Linked DNA regions of Homo sapiens: region 2 is linked to region 1. Evidence: promoter capture Hi-C in human tissues and cell types (Jung and others, 2019). All regions are on one chromosome and are shown on one strand. Each heading gives the region's core, a stretch centred on a gene start or on the middle of the fragment in contact. The rest is flanking DNA. Distances are from core to core; before and after follow the strand shown.

Evidence for each region. The method cuts DNA at HindIII sites, captures the fragments that hold promoters and counts their contacts. A contact is called where the count stands out against the background at its distance.
Region 2: a contact is called between a fragment that was not itself captured here and the fragment with the promoter of CBFA2T3 in region 1, in 1 of the 25 tissues and cell types used here (small bowel).

The regions. Positions count from the first base shown.
Region 1 is chr16:88,975,250-88,978,658 of GRCh38, reverse strand. CBFA2T3 (CBFA2/RUNX1 partner transcriptional co-repressor 3) reads left to right here and starts at 1,452. Exons shown (of 12, transcript NM_005187.6): 1 at 1,452-2,002. The coding sequence starts at 1,852. RefSeq lists enhancers at 1,031-1,080, 2,921-3,130, 2,783-3,327. The HindIII fragment of the contact is 13,654 bases long and covers 1-3,409 here.
Region 2 is chr16:89,232,687-89,236,343 of GRCh38, reverse strand. It overlaps ZNF778 (zinc finger protein 778), which reads right to left. Exons shown (of 7, transcript NM_001201407.2): 7 at 1-3,657. Among named protein-coding and RNA genes, the nearest start is that of ZNF778, 17 kb to the right of the region's middle. The HindIII fragment of the contact is 6,577 bases long and covers 1-3,657 here.

The DNA of each region.
Region 1 (3,409 bases), core at 203-2,702:
CCGGCCCATGTGGCGGCTCAGAGCCTCTGCTGTCTCCACTCCCGGAAACGCTGTAGGAGCTGACGCCGTTAGGATCGTGCACCCTGCACAAATGAGGAAACCAGGAGGGTCAGGGCCCCCAGGACCCTCACTGTGAATCCCACCCTGAGCCAGAGCACAGGGAACAGCAGGGGACGTGGGGACCGAATGATGGCACCAGGGGATGGGCCCCGGGCTGGCAGGAATGTCCCCTCCAGCCTCAGTCCTGGGGGCAGAACGGCCGACCACCCAGGGCAGGGGAGGCCCCGGGTGGGCCTGGCGTCTGGGAAGTTCCCCAGCAGGAACAAACACATCCCCACTGTAAGCTGGACACACACGCTGGCATGCAGCTTGTTGTCACCAACTCGAGAAAGACACTCGACTATTGGGACAGGGAGACCCGGGACACCTGGAGACCCTGCGGGGAAGGAGTCGGCTTTTACTCCTGCACGGCTTGAATTATTAACTGCGTGCAAACGTGACCTAAAACTCAAATCAAATCAAATCAAAATAGCACAGATGCCCGTGAGCCGGCCCTGGGTCTGCGGGCTCCACACCTCTGGCCTGTCTGAGGCCGGGAAACCTCCAGCCATGGCATCAGAAAAGCCACCGAACCAGGGCTGCAGGGCCGAAGGGTCACTGTCCCCTCCCAGGAAGCTCCTGCCCTCTGACAGTTGTCAGGGAGCTTTAGAAAGTGGCTTTTTTTCCCAGCATCTGGGATGTGCCTCACTCTCTCAGCCCAACGGCCGCTAGAAAGGGGTCCTAGGACTCTCCCTAGGGTCTAAGTAGTCCCAAGAGTGCTCTGAGGTGGCTTCTGGAATTTCCCAGACTGGAGAAGCCACCTACCCCCGACCCCCGCAAACTCCAGGCTGCTCACCGGAGGCGGCCGCTGGGGCGTGGGGTGAGGGTCTTTCTGAGGCACCCCCGGAGAGTGGGGGAGCCCTGCTGTCTCCACAGAGGGCCAGGAGCCCTGTGCACGAGGCCAAGCAGAGAGAGAGGGTTTCCTTCCCAGCAGGCGGGAGGTACTTTGAGGACAGGTCAGGTGCCCAAGAACCCCGGAGCAGGGGCTGAGGAGAGGCTGGTCAGAGGCCCCGCCTTGCTCAAGGGCACAGTCAGCAGACACAGGAACACGGGCAGGGTGGCCCCTGGAGCGGGGGCAAACTAAAAGGGGTGCTGGGGAAAGCTCGGCTGACTGAGGGCTAGCGGAGAGGGAGGACACCCCCAGATACCCCAGGCTGAAGGAAGGGCCAAGCCCTGGGGGGAAGATGGGTGGGCGGGACAGGCCAAGGGCTCTGGGCCAGGATGGAGCTGCCCTCAGGCCTGCACACCTGCCCTGGGGCCGAGGAAACACATGCCCAGTGGCCACGCTGTAGGGCTCAGGGTGGGTGGGACGTCACCAGAGCTGCCTGGGAGGAGGAAGTTGTTGGAAGGTCAAACCGGAATGGCCCGAGGGAAGGCCGCGCAGGGCAGGGCCCCAGATGGTTCCTGTCAGGGAAGTGGCGGGCGCAGCTGCAGGCCTCCGGCCCCGGCATTATCACGGGGACACAGCTGGCTGCCTCACCCGCAGGCTGCAGGGAGACCTTCCCCAGCCTGCAGCCCCAGGCCCGCCCCGCGTCACATGAGCCCCAGGGCTCCCACCCCCTCCCCAGGGCAGAGGACACCCAGTTGGTGGCCGGGAGGGCCTCGGCTTTCCAGGGACAGAGGCCCAACTCCAGGACGCCCCAGCTGGCCCAGCCCCTCCTCTTTCCCTCAAGGCTGCAGGAGGTCGGGAAAGGCAGTCCTGGTAGAGGCCTGTCCTGGGCTCCAGGTTGGCCCCTGAGGGTGGCCCTCCTCATGCCGGCTTCAAGACTGAGGGACAGGGCAGCCAGTTCAGCCTCGGGATCCACCTGTGGCTCCATGTCCCAGACGCACCCTGTGCTGGAGAGCGGCCTCCTGGCATCTGCCGGCTGCTCCGCACCCCGGGGTCCCAGGAAGGGCGGCCCAGGTAAGAGGCTCGAGGGGAAGGTGGTGGGGTGGGGGCAGAGAGCGGCAGCCGGTGCCGGGGCTGTGACTCCTTAGAGCTTCGCGGGGCCTGCCCAGCTTAGTTGACAGTGCCGGCACGGATGGCCGTGTTGACTCACCTCAGATATCAACAGGGCCACCCCACAGGCAGGTCCTGCACAGCTGGGGCAGGTGGGCTGGTGAGGGTTTGGCAGGTGCCAGCCAGGTGCCCCAGCCCCACCCAGAGGCAGATGCTGGAGGCCGGGCTGCTCAGCCCCGTCTAGGAGGGTGGGCTGTGTTCTCCTGGGGGTGGGAGGGCCGCAGCCGGGAAGTGATGGGGGGGTCCTAGAAAGAGAGCCCTCCTCCTCCTGGGATGCCCTCCGGGTGTGACACCTCACAGCAGGTTGGATGAGGAAACTGAGGCCAGAGGGGAGGGCACTGGCCCAAGACCCCGGTGAGGAGGAAATGGACCCAACCCTGGGCCCCTGTCCGAGGAACGATTCCAGCCAGGGCAGTGGGGGTTTACGGGGAACCTGGGCCTGCCCTTCTGGGGGCTTCGGGCTCTGGGGAGGGGTCCAGTCCAGCAGGACGCCAGCTATTGCTGATACCCCCCACCCGAGCCTGCGAAGTCCCAGGACAAGGATCCCCGGACGCTGGGGGCTGCAGCTGCAGGCTGGTGGCCCCGATTCCCAGTGGCCCTCGTGGCCACACTCCCAGCAGCCGTCGGAACCTTCAGGAGCTCACAGTCTCCCGTCTCGCGGGGCTCTCACTGAGGCCGTCAGGTCCAAGGTCTGACTGCACCCCTGACACTCACACACAGAACCCGGGACCGAGGGGTGTCCCCATCTCTGGAGACCACATTCCCTGAGCAGGTCCTGGCGGCGGCTGCCTGAGGCTGTTCCCACCTGCAGCTGCCCGTGGGGCCCCAGGGCCATCCCCCACAAGGGCCCCAGATGTGAGCAGGAACTTCCCAACCCCGGGTGCCCGGAATGCAAAGGCCGGACCTCACCACAGCCAGTGCTACTGTTCGTTTCTCCCGAATGGGTGACTCAGAGCCACCTTCAAGGCAGCACCAGCCCACTGGCCCTGGCATCTGCCATCCCGTCCTCTCTGGAGCGGCCCTGTCTATCCCCTGGCGCTGAGTGGCCTTGGGCCGGGTGCTTCCTCCCTGGGCCTCAGTTTCCTCATGGTTCAGACCCTTCCGACCTGCTCCCCGCGTGAGAGCAGGTTCTCACCGGCGCGGAGAGAGACGGGCTCTGAGGCGCATGGAGAGCCGCCGCTTTGTTAGGATGGGGGCGTCTACTGTGGAAGGACGGGGGTGTCTACCGTGGAAGGAGGTTAGGGCCAAGAGGTGGCCCCGTGCCTGAGTCATGCGAGGGGCTGCTGGCTAGAGGCATGAAACAGAGGGTCA
Region 2 (3,657 bases), core at 823-3,322, 260 kb before region 1:
CATTTCCTGTTGGCCTCTATGGCTTCCGACGAGAAACCCGGTCAATTGAATTGTTCTTCTGGAAGCACTGTGTCCACTTTCTCAGCCTCCTTCCAAGACTTTCACTCTGTAGCTTTCGGCAGCTTCGTGGTGGCAGGGGCTTGGTTTTCTTTTCTTTCTTCTTTTTTGAGACAGAGTCTCGCTCTGTTGCCCAGGCTGGAGTGCAGTGGTGCAATCTCAGCTCACTGCATGCTCTGCCTCCCGGGTTCACGCCATTCTCCTGCCTCAGCCTCCCCAGTAGCTGGGACTGCAGTCGCCCGCCACCACGCCCAACTAAATTTTTGTATTTTTCTTTTTTTTTTTTTTTTTTACTAGAGACGAGGTTTCACTGTGTTGGCCAGGATGGTCATGATCTCCTGACCTTGTGATCCGCCCACCTCGGCCTCCCAAAGTGCTGGGATTACAGGTGTGAGCCACCGCCCCCGGCCTGGGCTTGGTTTTCTTTAGGTTTATCCTGTCTGGGGCTCATGGAACCTCTTCAAACTTAAGTTTTTATCTTACACCAAATATGAGAAATGTTTCATCATTATTTTTTCAAGTGGTTTTACTACATCACACTTTCTCCTTTTCTTCCAGGATACTGAGGTCATGAATGTTAGCCATTTGGTATCATAACACTGCTCCCCAAGGCTGTTGCACATATGCTGAATAATTTAAGATTATAGTCTACACTTCTGAATTTTAGGTTATGACACTCTGGGTCTGTCAGTCCCACGGGTGATGGAGATACTGGTTCATCAGGCGAGTAACCTAGTCAGGTTCAGGAGGCAAGTTCTATTGAAACCATGTGGGTCGTGCTTTCCATGTTGATTCTGTCTTAAAGCCTACGCAGAACTGCTCATGTCTCTTCTCGGGCGAGGCTCGTCCACCTACAGAGTGGTCAACCTCACAGGCCAGCTCCTAAGGCTGATGATGTGTTTGCTGCTGCAGGACTGCCTGGAGGCCAGGGCAAGCGAATGGGAAAAACTAAACTTTCGGATTTTTTCTCTCACAGTGTTAGGACACCTGTTTCCCACTCGTTGTGTGAAAACGGAAGTCAGCATGAGGCCCCGATCTGGAGCCTAGTGGGTGCTGGTGCCAAGCTTCTGGGACCCTCCAGGCCTTCAGAATTGTGAACAAAATAAACCTCTTTTCTTCATTAAAAAAAAGAGGCCTTGCAAAAATTTTTATGTCCATAGTGGGAAAAATGACATTACACTCTACAGATACGGTCAACAAAAATCAACTCCAAATGGATTAAGCAACTTGGGATAAAACATAGAAACTGTGGAAGCCAAAATAGTACAGCATATTTAAGGCCTTAGGAGAAAAGAAATTTCTGATGAAGATAAAGGAAAGGTTGTATAAATTTGAGTATGCCAAAATTAAGAAATATTTTTCCTTTTTTTTTGAGACAGAGTCTCACTCTGTTGCCAGGCTGGAGTGCAGTGGCGCGATCTCGGTTCACTGCAATCTGTGCTTCCCATCTTCAAGCAATTCTCCTGCCTCAGCCTCCCAAGGAGCTGGGATTACAGGCGTGCACCACCACATCTAGCCAATTTTTCTATTTTTAGTAGAGATGGCGTTTCACCATGTTGGCCAGGATGGTCTTGATCTCCTGACCTTGTGATCCACCCACCTCGGCCTCCCAAAGTGTTGGGATTACAGGCCTGAGCCACCACACCTGGCACAATCTTTTTCCTTAAGGCATCATCACAAAAGTGGAAACAGGTGAAGTGGAAACCACTGCAATCTTCTAAGTCACAAGTGGTGACTCACCTCACAACAGCCTCACTATTTCTAAAAAAGAACAAAGATCAAACAAACCAGGAAAAAACAAGACCAGGTACTTCATCCAAAAAGGAAAATAGCCAGCGTAAGCAAAACCATGTTCATACTATCAGTAATGAAGAGAAGTGCAAACCAACACCCCAAGGAGATGCTGTTTCACAACCACTTTGGAAAAAACGTCACTCCCTAAGAAGGTTGAACGAGTAGAGAGAAAGAATAAAACTGCCCAGGAGTCAACATGGCAGTTCCTACAGATAGTTCAAGAATCCCTGGGCTGGGTAAGACCTTGTCACAGACATGTGCTTAGGTAGAGAGACTATGAGGAAAACCACACCACTGGTGGGGCCTAGACGCGGACTCGTCAAGGTGAGTGAGTGACACACACAGGTTCCTGACATGGAAAGTTTATCACTCACAGTGTCAAGAGAAGGCGGCACATCACTCCAGGCAGGGCCCAAGGGGAGCTGCAGAGCTGGGCAGGAGGCAGAAGTCAGAGCCAGGGGAGGCAGAGGCCACAGGGTTTTCACAGGAAAGGCAGGACAGGGCAGGATGAAGTCTGGGGCTGGCTAGTCTGCATACTTCCAGCAGGCCCAAGGGCATACAGCATGTCCTGCTGTCTAGTGCCTCATCCTGGGCTGACTTCAGGGAGGAGAAATACTGGCTTGGTGTGGTAGTTAGAAAAAGGAAGTGGCCGGAAATAAGTACTTGCAACAGTTGAGTTGCATACGCAGTGCGAGCTGAGTTGCATACGCAGTGCGAGTTGAGTTGCATACGCAGTGCGAGTTGAGTTGCATATGCAGTGCGAGTTGAGTTGCATACGCAGTGAGTTGAGTTGCATATGCAGTAAGTTGATTTGCATACGCAGTGCGAGTTGAATTGCATATGCAGAGCGAGCTGAGTTGCATACAGTGTGAGTTGAGTTGCATATGCAGTATGAGTTGAGTTGCGTTGCATATGCAGTGCGAGCTGAGTTGCATATGCAGTGAGTTGATTTGCATACGCAGTGCGAGTTGAGTTGCATACACAGAGCAAGCTGAGTTGCATACGCAGTGTGAGTTGAGTTGCACACGCAGTGCGAGTTGAGTTGCACACGCAGTGCGAGTTGAGTTGCATACGCAGTGCGAGTTGAGTTGCATACGCAGTGCGAGTTGAGTTGCATACGCAGTGCGAGTTGCATACGCAGTGCGAGCTGAGTTGCATACGCAGAGCGAGCTGAGTTGCATACGCAGAGCGAGCTGAGTTGCATACGCAGTGCGAGCTGAGTTGCATACGCAGAGCGAGCTGAGTTGCATACGCAGAGCGAGCTGAGTTGCATACGCAGAGCGAGCTGAGTTGCATACGCAGTGCGAGCTGAGTTGCATACGCAGTGCGAGCTGAGTTGCATACGCAGAGCGAGCTGAGTTGCATACGCAGAGCGAGCTGACTTGCATACGCAGTGCGAGCTGAGTTGCATACGCAGTGCGAGCTGAGTTGCATACGCAGAGCGAGCTGAGTTGCATACGCAGTGCGACTTGAGTTGCATACGCAGAGCGAGCTGGGTTGCATACGCAGAGCGAGCTCAGTTGCATACGCAGAGCGAGCTGAGTTGCATAGGCAGTGAGTGGATTCGCATACGCAGTGCGAGTTGAGTTGCATACGCAGTGCGAGTTGAGTTGCATACGCAGTGCGAGTTGATTTGCATACACGGTGTGAGTTGAGTTGCATATACGGTGTGAGTTGAGTTGCATATGCAGTGAGTTGATGTGCATATGCAGTGAGTTGATTTGTATATGCAGTGCATGTTTCCAGCAAGTTGTTTACCATCTTTAGGAATGATCTAGCCTGAGAGGGACGGTCTAGCCCCCACAG